2 separate regions of the Homo sapiens genome follow, and region 1 is linked to region 2. The links are contacts of gene promoters, found by promoter capture Hi-C in human tissues and cell types (Jung and others, 2019). All regions are on one chromosome and are shown on one strand. The core of a region is centred on a gene start or on the middle of the fragment in contact, and the rest is flanking DNA. Distances in the headings are between cores, read along the strand shown.

What was found. The method cuts DNA at HindIII sites, captures the fragments that hold promoters and counts their contacts. A contact is called where the count stands out against the background at its distance.
Region 1: a contact is called between a fragment that was not itself captured here and the fragment with the promoter of VASH2 in region 2, in 1 of the 25 tissues and cell types used here (spleen).

What each region holds. Positions count from the first base shown.
Region 1 is chr1:212,419,949-212,427,085 of GRCh38, forward strand. No RefSeq gene overlaps it. Among named protein-coding and RNA genes, the nearest start is that of PACC1, 8.6 kb to the left of the region's middle. The HindIII fragment of the contact is 6,505 bases long and covers 1-6,361 here.
Region 2 is chr1:212,947,353-212,953,578 of GRCh38, forward strand. VASH2 (vasohibin 2) reads left to right here and starts at 3,189. Exons shown (of 8, transcript NM_001301056.2): 1 at 3,189-3,388; 2 at 3,987-4,466. The coding sequence starts at 4,191. RefSeq lists enhancers at 3,175-3,324, 3,845-3,894. The HindIII fragment of the contact is 12,745 bases long and covers 1-5,801 here.

The DNA of each region.
Region 1 (7,137 bases), core at 1,859-4,358, 530 kb before region 2:
GTAGAAAGAGAAAGGGCCCAAGCAGAGAGGCAGTACAAGGTATGATAGGGATGTTATCGTGACATGCATCAGGAAGGGGATGATATTCAATTCGGGGGTTTTCAAGGGCCTCCTCCATCCCCAGAGATCTTGTGACACAGTGTAATGTAGATACTGCACTTCGAGGTTTACAATTCCACTACCATTGTTAGTTTTAACACAGTCCTATGAAAGAGGCAGGCTGGCATGTTACTAATGTGGAAATTGAGATTCAGAGTAAAGTTAATGCACACAGATCCTGTTTAAGTCACTCTGCACTAGAAACCCATCCTGTTAAATAAGTAAAAGTATAAACATTTGGTATAGTCGCTGGGGGGAAGGATAGCCTGGTGGTTATGGCAGGCTGTAGGACACATGGCCTGTGCTTGACTTGGCTCTGTCACCTACTGTGAGAGCTACGTGAGGTACTTAAGGTCCCCTGACATAGTAATAGTTATGTCCCAGAGTTAAAGTGAGGATTAAAAGAGCTTATAAACATCAAAGTGCTGAAACCAGTACCTGGCATACAGTGAGCCCTTTTCTGGTCTCCTTTGCCAGTTCTACCAACCACCAAATGTTAGGAGCTCAGTCCCCTCTGTCCACATGCACTTCCCTTGGCGATCTCAGCCATTCCTGTGGCTTTACATACAACACCTATGCCAGTGAATTCCAAAATTTCTATCTCCAGCCCAGAACTCTCCCCTCATTCTAGACTTGTATATTTAATTGCCAATTTGATACCTTCAGTTAGATGTCTAACACACATCACAAACTGAACAAGCCCCAAATTGATCTTGATCTTCTCCTCCAAAACCTACTCCTATATCAATAAATGGCAATTCCATCTTTCTAGTTACTCAGGGCAACAACCTCCAACTCACCTCTGACTCCTCTCTGTTTCTTACATCCCAAGTCTCATCTGTCAGCAAATTCTATCAACCACATCTTCAAAACATATCCATAGTCAACCACTTCTCACCACATCCCCAGGCACCACCCTGGTCCAAGCAGCCATCATCTCCCACCTGGATTATTGCAGTAGCCTCCCGGCTTCAGCCAGAGTTATTCCATTAACATTTAAACTTATTCTGTCACAGGTGTCCTAACCAGAATGACTCCATCTTGAATAAAGGCCATATAAAGCCAAAAAAAAAAAAAAAAACTGCTGGGTGACTTTCTCAGGAAGTTAGGCACTCTTTATCACAAGATGTCTAGGGCTGAGGAAACAAGTTAATGGAAAAAGGCATTCTTAGTTTAAAAATGGGTTTTACTCTAATGATGCTATTAATAGTACACCCATAAATTCTCGCTGAAATCAATAGTTACACAAGAGAACATGAATACTAATATCCTGTCACAAGCTGATCACAGGACTTTATAATAAAGTACACTATTCTTAGCCCTAATATCCTATGTAAGCAAGCGTTACATTAAGGTAGAGGCATTCCTCCTCTTGCTTTCTGAGCATGCCCTACTCTGTAATAGAGTGGTTTCTAATAAACTATTTAAACTTTACTATACTCTGTGACTTGCCCTGAATTATCTCCCTGCAAGAGCCAAGAACCTGCTCTTGGGTTCTTGGATGAGACCCCTTTTCTGGTAACATTTTCCCATTGCATCTCCACTGGAACCTTAATGAGGTGAGACCCTCCAACCCAGAGGAAATACACTGTGCAGCACCAATTGGCCAACTTTGGGTAAGTAGTGGAATATATTTTTATAGTGGTAAAGGACGGGGTACTTGTCTAAAACTGGTTAGAGGTCCAACTAGGAAGGGTTGGAGGCCCTCCACATCCTCATAGCTGGATATGGATTCAGTGTGACGAGATATTAACCATTACTCCCTTTGGATTAGCCCTCCTTGCACTCTTGGCTGCTCGTTAAAGGCTGCTACTTGCCAGTTTCCTGATTGCTGTCTATGTTTTACTGCTGTGTTTTCCTGCTGTTTTTCACAGGCCTCACTTGACCAGTCCTGATATTTTTAACTTTTCACTTTCCTCATTTGCCTTCAGATTATCGGCTCTTCGCCTGTCTGCTCCGGCATCCTGTTAAGGTACATTGGGGATGAATGGTTCTGCAAGATTTACTTTCCCTATATGTAGCCCATTTACATGAATTATTTATTGCCTCCCCTTCTCTCAAAATTGAAACTTGGTACTTCCAATTTTTATTTATTTATTTATTTATTTATTTGGAGATGAAGTTTTGCTCTGTCGCCCAGGCTGGAGTGCAGTGGCGTGATCTCAGCTCTCTGCAACCTCCGTTCCCCAGGTTCGAGTGATTCTTATGCCTCAGCCTCCCGAGTAGCTGGGACTACGGGTGTGTGCCACCATGCCTGGCTAATTTTTGTATTTTTAGTAGAGACGGGGTTTCAGCATGTTGGTCAGGCCGGTCTTGAACTCCTGACCTCAAGTGATCCACCCACCTCGGCCTCCCAAAGTGCTGGGATACAGGCGTGAGCCACCGCGCCCAGCCAGTACTTACAAATTTTAAATGAAAAATTCCAGGGTGTATGATTGAGCCAGGCAGCAATTATGCCAGTCCCATGTAGACAAACAGCTATAGAATAGGGAATTGGAGATTTGTTTTTAGCAGTTCCTTTTCATCTGCTCACTAATCAAATGACTTTTACTTCTTGGTTACGGACAGCAAGACCATGTAAGTTTCACCCTGCTTGCCATCACTGTCCTGAGCCTGGACATTCCTTCCCGGGTCTGTGTCATTTCCCTTGCTTAATGAGACATTTCTTTGTCAAGTCCCCTATTGTGGTCTCTCTAGTGCAAATGGCCCAACTCATTATTTGGGTAATATGAATAGCTGAATTAAAGTGACCATGGGGGCTGGGTATAGTGGCTCACACCTGTAATCCTAGCACTTTGGGAGCCCAAAGCAGGAGGATCATTTGAGCTGAGGAGTTCAAGAGCAGCCTGGGCAACATAGCAAGACCCCGCCTCTATTTTTATTAAAAAAAAAAAAAGTGATCACAGGATCATTTTCCCTTGCTCATTTGGCTCTGAAAGCTCTTTCATCCTTTTTAGTGGAGCTTGGCCAGTGGCAGTACAACCTTATTCACAATGATCTCTATTTTCACCTTTACCTGCTCCCTTCATGGGTAACACAGCCTTAATCCTAAAAAGCTCACCACTAGGGTACATATTAGAGCATTGGGACCAATTTAAATTAGGTGGGCTTAAGAAAAAGAAATGTTTATTTTTATGTAATATTGTTTGGCCCTAATAGGGCCAAATAATAATGTTATTATTCCAAATAATAATAATGTTATTTGGAAAGTCAAGAAAAATGGCCACCTAATGGAACTACAGCCTTTAATAGTTATACTTCAACTTGATTTGTTTTGCAAGCAGGAGGGAAAATGGGGTGAAATACCATATGTTCAAACATTTCTATTGCTTAGTCAGGATAAAACTTTAAAACAAGCATGTGCATATTTAATGAAAATAAAAGAGGAAAACTAATTAGATATTCTAGATGATCTTTCAATGCAAGCCTTGGTCAGTTCCAATGCTTCAGGTGCATCTGCCCCTGTCCCTTCTAGCCCTTCTAGTAGTTCTGTTGAGACCTCTTCATCTCATCCTCCTTACCCGTCTAGCCCTATTTTACATCTACCTCCTTCTGAGATGCTTAGTCCTATTCTGTACCCGTTACTCCCTGAGGAACCCAGCCCCACCTGTATTACCCATAGTGGAGCCTCTTAGCAACTTTCAAAGGAAAATCTTTGCTTAGAGAAGTGGTAAATGGGGAACAGGGCACTATAAGGGTATGTGTCCCTTTTTCTATGTCTGATTTGGCATTATGCAAAGAAAAATTTGGTTGTTTCTCTGAAGACCTAGGAAAATTTATAGATGAGTTTGAGAAACTAACTCTGACATAATTTAACCTGGCAGGATTTGCATATTTTGTTATCCACCTGCTGTACAGTGGAAGAAAAACAGTGGATTTTGGAAATAGCTAGGACACATGCAGATGAAATGCTATCCCACAATTCTAATCATACTATCTACAGGGTTGGGGGTATTGCAGTTCCTGATCAAAATCGAGGATGGAATGATCAAAGGAATAGTGAAGACTGAGAAGAGAGATCACATGATCACTTGTTTATTAGAAGGGATAAACACATGTACGAAAAAACATGTTAATTATGATAACGTGAAGGAAGTTACCCAAGGTAAAGATGAGAATCTGGCTTTGTTTCAGGGACAATTGAGGCAATTAGGAAATACACTGATCCCACTTCAAAAGGACAAACCTGATTAGGGGTACATTGTATAATCCAGTCTGCCCTTGATATCCATTGGAAACTGCAAAAAAAGCAGCCTTGGTTCCCCAGACTACTATGAACCAGTTTTGGGACACGGCATTTATGGTTTTTAATAACAAGGACAAGACAGAGAAAGCAGAAAAACTTAAGACAGCTTCTCAAAAGGAACAGCTCTTAGCTGTGGCCTTAAGCTTGCCACACATATGGGGGTTGCCCTTACACTTCTCAGCCTTGGCAAGGGAAGCTAGAAGGCAGAAAGCCCCAATCTGGGCTTCCAGATCACCGCAACTTGAATATAAATTAATGTGCTTGCTGTAAGACAACTGGCCATTAGGAAGAGGCGCACCACTCACTCTCGGGTTTGCTCAGACATCCTTAGTTTAGGTGCTGAAGGCCAAGAGTGATGGGGCTCAAGACCTTCTGCCACAGCTCTCATTGGGCAACAAAACCATGTATCTGGAGGATCCTGGGGTAACCCTTGAAGTGGCAGGTAAGAATATTAATTTCCTTCTCTATACAGGGGCTGCTTGCTCTGTTTTGGCACATTATGAAGAGGCTTTATCATCCCGAGACTGTATGATCACAGGGATAAATGGACAAGCTCATAGGTGCTGTTTTAGCATCCTATAAGCTGCTCTTCTTTTTTTTTTTTTTCTTTTTTTGAGACAGAGTCTCATTCTGTCACCAGGCTGAAGTGCAGTGGCACGATCTCGTCTCATGGCTTTGTATGTTTTTCTTTTAATGCCTGAATGCCCTGCCTCTCTTTTGGGAAGAAATGTATTAATTCAGCTTCAAACTGTAGACTCTTTCAGAGATTACAAGGTGGATGAGGAATTGCTTTTACTTCTCTCCAAGACAATGGAGAAAAATTAATAGAGATTCAGCTAGCTTGCATGTTGTAGTAACCTCCCAAATAGATCCTATGGTTTGGAACATTTAAGTTCTGGGGAGGGCATTACATACCCCTCCAGTTTGTATTTAACTTAAACCAAACCTGGTGTCTCATATTCCCTGGAAAAGACAATACCCTCTGAGACCAGAGGCACAAAGAGGAATCCAGCCATTAATAAATAAGTTTCTGCAGTTTGGTTTGCTGAGACTCTGAGTCTCCCTGTAATACTCCAATCTTGTCAGTTAAAAAGACAAGTGGAGACTATAGATTTGTTCAAGACCTCCTGGTTGTCAATGAGGCTGTTGTTCTCATACATCCTATAGTATGCAATCCTTACAGGCTGTTAGCCCAGGTCCCTGGGGGTGCTAATTGGCTTACAATCTTAGATCTTAAGGAAGCCTTTTTCTGTATTTTGGTGCACCCTGATTCACAATCCATCTTTGCTTTTGAATGGACTGACCCACATAGTCATTTAGTTTCTCAATTAACTTGGACAGTTCTTCCCTAGGGGTTTGGAGATACCCCTCATTTATTTGGAAATGCGTTGGCTAAAGAATTTAAAATGTTATGATTGGATAAGGGCACCATTATTCAGTACTTAATGATCTGCTTATTGCTAGCCAACCAAAAGGGACTCAGACAATAACACCATTTCACTGTTAAATTTTCTGAGAACTAATGGGTATATAGAGTCTTGCTGTACAAGGCCTAGATTTCTTTTCTTTTTATTTTTTTGAGACAGGGTTTGGCTCTGTCGCCCAGGCTAGAGTGCAGTGGTGTGACCTCAGCTCAATGCAACCTCCATCTCCTGGGGTCAAACAGTCCTCCCACCTCAGCCTCCCAAGTAGCTGGGACCACAGGTGCACACCACTACACCCAGCTAATTAAAAAGAAAAAATTTTTTTAGAGACGGTTTTGCTGTGTTGCCCAGACTGGTCTTGAACTCCTGAGCTCAATCAAGTGATCCTCCCACCTCGGCCTCCCAGAGTGTTGAGATTACAGGTGTGAGCCCCTACGCCAAGCCAAGGCCCAGATTTCAACTCAAAAAGTTAAGTATTTGGGATACATCTTAACTCCTGGCACCCGGGCAATAGCCCTGGTACAAAAAGAAGCTATTTTGGGTGTTCCAGAACACCAAACTAGAAAACAATTGCGGGCTTTCCTAGGGATGGCAGGATTCTGCCATTTATGGGTACCCAGATTTGGGATATGGCCAAGCCTTTAGATGAGGCTCTATGAGGAGCAGACTCAGATCCTTCTGAATGGGATAACAATTATAAACACGCTTTTAATACTCTCTAAGAGTACATCTCCAGCCTTAGGAATCCTCAGTCTTGACAAACCAGTCTTCGTTTACGTGGCTGAAAAACAACAAACAGCCCTGTGCATTCTTGTCCAGAAACTAGGAGATATCCTTTAACTGGTGGCATACTTTTCTAAGCAATTATACCATGTAGCTTCAGGATGGCCCAGATGTCTCAGAGCAGTTGCAGCAACTGCTATTCTGGTAGATGAAGCTAACAAATTAACTTTGTGGCAACATCTGGAGTTTTTGACCCCACACCAAGTACAAGAGGTTCTAGAAGCTAAAGGACACCTATAGATAACCAAGATATGCTTATTAAAGTAGCAGGCTTTATTGTTTAGACACTCCTGATATTACTCTTAAAGGATGCCAAACCTTAAGCCTGGCTACTTATCTGCCTGAGGCTATGGACCCTCTAGATCATTCTTGCATGCAAGTTATGGAGCAAATTTATTCCAGCTGGGCAGACTTAAAAGATGAGCCACTAGATAATCCTGAAACAGAATGGTTTACAAATGGGGGCAGTTTTATGTATCAGGGAAACTGGAGAGCCAGGTAGGCTGTTGCCAGTCAGCATGAGGTAATCGAAGCCCAGGCTCTGGCTCTAACAGCTTCTAGCTCAGCTCAAAAAGGAGTTAATGG
Region 2 (6,226 bases), core at 1,939-4,438:
AGTGTGTATTGTACCCAATATGTAGCCCTTTTTTTGTTGTTTTTGTTTTGTTTTTGAGACAGAGTCTCACTCCATCACCCAGGCTGGAGTGCAGTGGTGCAATCTCAGCTCACTGCAACCTCCGCCTCCTGGGTTCAAGTGATTCTCATGCCTCAGCCTCCTGAGTAGCTGGGATTACAGGTGCTGTGCCACCATGCCCAGCTAATTTTTGTATTTTTAGTAGAGATGGGGTTTCATCATGTTGGCCAGGCTGGTCTCGAACTCCTGACCTCAGGGGATCTACCCGCCTCAGCCTCCCAAAGTGCTGGGATTACAGGCATGAGCCACCCCACCAGGCCCAATATATAGTCTTTTATCCCTCACACTCATCCTCCCCTTCCCGGCCCACCACTGAGTTCCCAAAGTCCATTATATCATTCTTTACATCCTCATAGCTTAGCTCCCACTTATAAATAAAAATATATGATTTTTGGATTTCCATTCCTGAGTTACTTCACTTAGAATAATGGCCTCTAGCTTCATCCAAGTTGCTGCAAAAGACATTATTTCATTCCTTTTTATGACTGAGTAGTATTCCATGGTGTATATATACCACATTTTCTTTCTTTCTTTTTTTTTTTTTTTTGAGACAGAGTCTTGCTCTGTTGCCCAGGCTGGAGTGCAGTGGCGCCATCTCAGCTCACTGCAAGCTCCGCCTCCCAGGTTCACGCCATTCTCCTGCCTCAGCCTCCCGAGTGGCTGGGACTACAGGCGCCCACCACCATGCCCGGCTAATTTTGTGTATTTTTAGTAGAGACGGGGTTTCATCATGTTAGTCAGGATGGTCTCGGATCTCCTGACCTCGCGATCCGCCTGCCTGGGCCTCCCAAAGTGCTGGGATTACAGACATGAGCCACCACGCCCGGCCTATATACTACATTTTCTTTATCCACTCATTAGTTAATGGGCGCTTAGGTTGGTCCCATATTTTTGCAATTGCAAATTGTGCTGCTATAAACATGCATGTGCACGTGTCTTTTTCATATAATGACTTCTTTTCCTTTGGGTGGATACCCTGCCATGGGAATGATGCATCGAATGGTAGCTTTAGCTCTACTTCTAGTTCCTTAAGGAATCTTGCTGTTTTCTATAGTGGTTGTACTAGTTTACATTCTCACCAGCAGTTTTATGCATGTTCCCTTTTTGCCACATCCACATCAAAATCTATTATTTTTTGACTTTTATGACAATTCTCGCAAGAGTAAGATGGTATCTTATGGTGGTTTAATTTGTATGTCTCTGATAATTAGTGATGTTGAACATTTTTTCATATGTTTGTTGACTGTATATCCTCTTTTGAAAATTGTCTATTCATGTCCTTTGCCAATTTTTTGATGGGATTGGTTTTATCTGGCTGATCTGTTTGGGTTCCTTGTAGATTCTGGATACTGGTCCTTTGTCAGATGCACAGTTTGTGAATATTTGCTCGCACTCTGTGGATTGTCGGTTTACTCCGCTGATTATTTCTTTTGCTGTGCAGACCCTTTTTAGTTTAATTAGGTCTCATTTATTTATTTTCATTTTTGTTACATTTGCTTTTGAGGTCTTAGTCATGATTTCTTTGCCTGAGCTAATGTCTAGAAGTGTTTTTCTCATGTTATCTTCTAGAATTTTTATGGTTTCAGGTCTTAGACTTAAGTCTTTGATCCATCTGGAGTTGATTTTTGTGTAAGGTGAGAGACGAGGATCCAGTTTCATTCTACATGTCCACTTCAGCCTTTTGAGTAGCTGGGACTACAGGTGTGTGCCACCACATCTGGCTAATTTCAAAATATTTATTTAGTAGAGACAAGGTCTCGCTATGTTGGTCCAGTCTCTAATTCCTGGCCTCAAGTAATCCTTCCTCCTCTTTCTCCCAAAGTGCTGGGTTTAAAGGTGTGAGGCACCACGTCTGCCCTATTCTCATTATTGAATCTATAAAGTTCTTGGCATGGGCTCTGTCTCAGGGAGCAGTGCAGGGCTAAGTCCAGAATCCAGGTCTCCTCACCCAAGCCCTGGCTCTCAACTACCCCTCAGGGGTCTCTGCCCTCCTGTGGAAGAGAAGTTCCAGTTCCATGACAGGCAACTTGTCAGGATAAGCATCCAGAAACTGACCCGCCATCAGTGGCACTTTGACAACTGTCTTCTTAATTCAAGGTTCACTTAGCATAGGTCTCATAACTGCTTTGCTCAGAGCTGGCCTGCTGGCCTGCAGTTTAAAGAGAAAGGATGCTATGGCCAGGATCCTCAGTGTCACAAGAGAGGAAGTCAGGGAATCACAGAACCTTACAGCCAGAACAGACCCTGGAGAGCGGGAGGTCTGCTCTCCTTTCAGAAAGAGAAGCTAAGGCCCAGAGCAGGGAAGTGGCTTGTCCAGGGTCACACAGCTGAGCAAAGTGACAAACCTGGACCAGGAGCCAGCCTTCAGGTCAGCAGTCTGGTGCTCTTCCCACCTCAACCTGCTCTCCTCTTTCTTAAAGAAAAAGAAAGAGAAGGTGTTTCAGTAGTGAGTGTGGGATAGCCACCCACTTCACCATGGTTTGGAAGCATCTCTCCATCCCTCCTCTCACTCAACAGCTGTGGCAGAACAGTCAGGGCCTGCCTGACCTCTTGAGTTTTATTGTCTCCTCTCAACTTGGGCTTAAAGGGACTTTATTAACCATGACTAATACCAGAGGATCCAAAGCTGCACCCACTTGTTAATTTTGAGGAATTTTTAAATGCGGGATTTAAAAAAGATTTAATTTCACGCATAGGTATGAACAGCCCCTCATCATCCCAGGTAGAGGATGAACAACTCATCATCCCGGGTAGAGGCAGGTAAGTGTGTCCAGCGTCCCTCAGGGAATGCTCTTCTGATGCCAAACCCTCTGCTTCCGCGGGGTCACTTCTCGGGTGGTTTTGTTTCTCCTCTGCTTCCACAGTTGCAAACCCTCGAAGTGCCACGACCCCTGGGGAAACTCGATCTTAAGTCCCATGGCCAAACGCTCCAGCCCGCGGGGCTCTCAGGACACCACAGCGATCGGATTTCGCGTGGCCGCCAGGCTCCCCCTACTCCTGTCCCCTCCCGCCAGAGAACCCCTGGAGCCAATCAGAGCGTCGCGGAGCCCGGGGTTGTAGAGTCCCGAGCCCGGGACCCGCCCCTCTTTGTTGCGGTGGCCAATAGACGCATTCGGAACATCGGCGGCTGCCCGGGTGACTTGGTTATATGTCACAGAATAACATTCGAGAATGGGACATGGAATGAGGCGACGGCCCCAGCAAGCCCCAGCAGCCCCAGCCCCAGCCCCAGGCCCAGCAGCAGCAGCAGCAGCCCCTGCTCTCCCGCCGCCCGGAGAGGCTCTGCAGCCATGAAGCCAACCGTCCCGAGGTAGGATCTTGGAGCTGCCGCGCGCCCTTCCTGCGCGCCGCCCGCCTGCAGCCAGTCCCTCCCGGTGATAGGCGCTGGAACTCGGGGAAAAGGGGGCGGATGGAGCTCTTTCCACTAGATCCCCGCCGGGGTCCGGGAGGGCTTCCTGGAAGAAAGCGGGCCGCCTTGCAAGCCAAGGCTGCTGCAGCGCCCTCGCGCCAGCTCTGGGCGCTCACATGCCAGCACGTTCGTGGCTCCCCTCCTCTCTTGGCCACATCTGAGGACCCAGGAATGTGTGGAGCCTTGCGGGAACCTCCTGTTCCTTCATGCTACACAAGCTGTCTTTCTTCTCCCCACATCTTGCGCTCCGCATCCCCCAAGCTCCTTGTGCCCCTCCATCCCCAACCCCCCGGGTTTAGGTGTGTGTGAAGCTTCGTGGCACATTTTGAGCTGCCTTTCTAGGTAATCGCAGGGCTGGAAGCCCGTCATCGATTCTCAGGGAGGCTGTCAGCGTGCAGGGGGGAGCGGGGAGTGTCGTGGAGACACTCCGGGACCCCTCACTCGGTTCCGCTGTGCGTCCACTTAGCTGTGGTGTCAGCTGTGTCTCCGCTGATTTCAGGCACCGCCGGTAAGCAGGGAGCCTCCGCGGAGCTCCCGCCGCCGCTCCCCCTTGGTGAGTCCTGCCGCAGCGAGAGGCATGGAGAAGGCCGCCCCCGCGGGGCGCTGATCCCCTCGCCGCGCCCGCGCGCACACGCCCCCCGCCGCCGCCGCCGCTGCCGCCGCCGCGCGCCCCCAGTACCTCGCTCCCCGCCCAGGCCCCACCATGACCGGCTCCGCGGCCGACACTCACCGCTGCCCCCACCCCAAAGGCGCCAAAGGCACCCGGTCCCGGAGCAGCCACGCGCGGCCCGTGAGCCTCGCCACCAGCGGGGGCTCAGAGGAGGAGGACAAAGACGGCGGGGTGCTGTTCCACGTCAACAAGAGCGGCTTCCCCATCGACAGCCACACCTGGGAGCGCATGTGGATGCACGTGGCCAAGGTGCACCCTAAGGGGGGAGAAATGGTGGGCGCCATCAGGAACGCCGCCTTCTTGGCAAAGGTCAGTGGCTTCCAGGGCGGAGTTGGGGGGCTGGGGGTAGGTAGGCAGCGATGGGACCGTTTCAGCCTATACATAGCAAACACAGGCAATCTCCATTTTCCTAGTCCTGCTACAAACTCCCTTCCTCTCCCCATTCCTTCCTGCCAGCCCTTTTCTAATTGAGATATTTAGATTGGAAGCCTAAGAAATGGGGAAGGGAGAGGTAGCGGGCTTGCTATCCTGGGACTGTGTAATTGGATTGTGCCAAGGTGTCTTTGAAGCTCCAGCCAAACTCTATTATTTACTCACCCCCACATACATCCTCCTTCAGCAAAAGCTAGAGCCACCAGGTACCAGCGATGCCAAAGAATGCACAGACCCCAGGGATCCCACCCTGCTTGTTCTCTTTGGAGTGTCTTGCTCCTCCTCTGCTCCCCTCTTCCCCCAGCAAATGATTTATTAAGCTGTGAATGAATTTGAAATCAACCAGTCAGACTTCTCAGTGTGAATAATTTCCAGACTTTTTGCCAGTTTTTTTTCTTTTCTTTCTGGTTTTTTTGTGTGTGTGTGTGTGACAGTGACTTTCACCTCTGAAACTTGCAAAACGGTGAACTCTCTCTCTCTCTTCCCAGCTTATTTGTGCTCCAAGAAAAAAGAAAGACTTTTGGCTGAGACTTAAAAGGGACTTTCCAGTACACATGATGAATTAGTCTCACTGGATAGAAAAAGAGGATGAGGAGTGAAACTCTCTTTTTGCCTTGGAGAGAAGCCAGTGAGCCATTTGGGTTTGGTGGCTAAGGATATCTTTACCGAGGGAGGGAGATGTACCCTGGTGGGAGTAGATACGTTATATGAAACATCAAAATGCAAACTGGGGAGAAATGCTGCCGAGCCTCGGGGTTATAGCGTGGCGGATGGTTTCCCCTGGACCCTGGGGACGCTGGTACGGCTGAGAAGATTCCTGGGCAGGTCTAGGAATGCCAGACTTGAGACCCGGAAGGCCATCTGGTTGATTCCCCAGCCTGGTGACAGCTGAGCATCTGAGCCTGCAGGCCAGAAAGCTGTGTGTGTCCTTGGAGAAGTGACAGAGCCTCTAAACTTCCTGCTGCAGTCAGTTACAGTGTTCTATTACTCTGCTGGTCAAGGAGATCTTCATTGTGCCCAACTAGAATCTTGCCTGCTTTAGTGTCAACCATAATTACCCTTGCTGAGTTCTTGAATATGAGAACAACCTTTGTTCCTGGTTTGCAGTTCTGACTTGAGAATTTTTCCTCCAGTGAGGAGCCGAGAGCCCTTAAACTTGGAAGAAAAGTGACCACAAGGAAAAAAACGCCTGTTCCTACTGTCCCATGCTGCCTTTCTTAGTAGCACCCGTACCAACCCTGCCTCTAATTGTGCTTTTATCCTTCCTCCAACCATGTATGCGGGTGCGCGGGGGGGGGTGCATTCTCTATGTGGGAATCATGGAATTTTGCTGTTTGTAGAGACCAGTCTCCCACCTCTCAACAGAATCCCCTCCTCTTTCTGAAGACCTCTTGGGAATGGGGAGCTTGCTGCTTCCCAGGGCAGCTGATCTTAGGCCTGGCCAGAGTCGATTGTTAGGAAGCTCTTAGACCAACCATAAATCCTCCTCGCAGCACCCTCCCACCCGCAAATCACATTTCATCACTGATTGTTGTGTTCCTCTTGCCTTTTGAATCAGGGCAGAGCATTGTCAACTTCCTTTGCTACTCACAGCACCCTTGAATGTTATGAGAGAGTGCTCTTAGGATGGAAGGGAC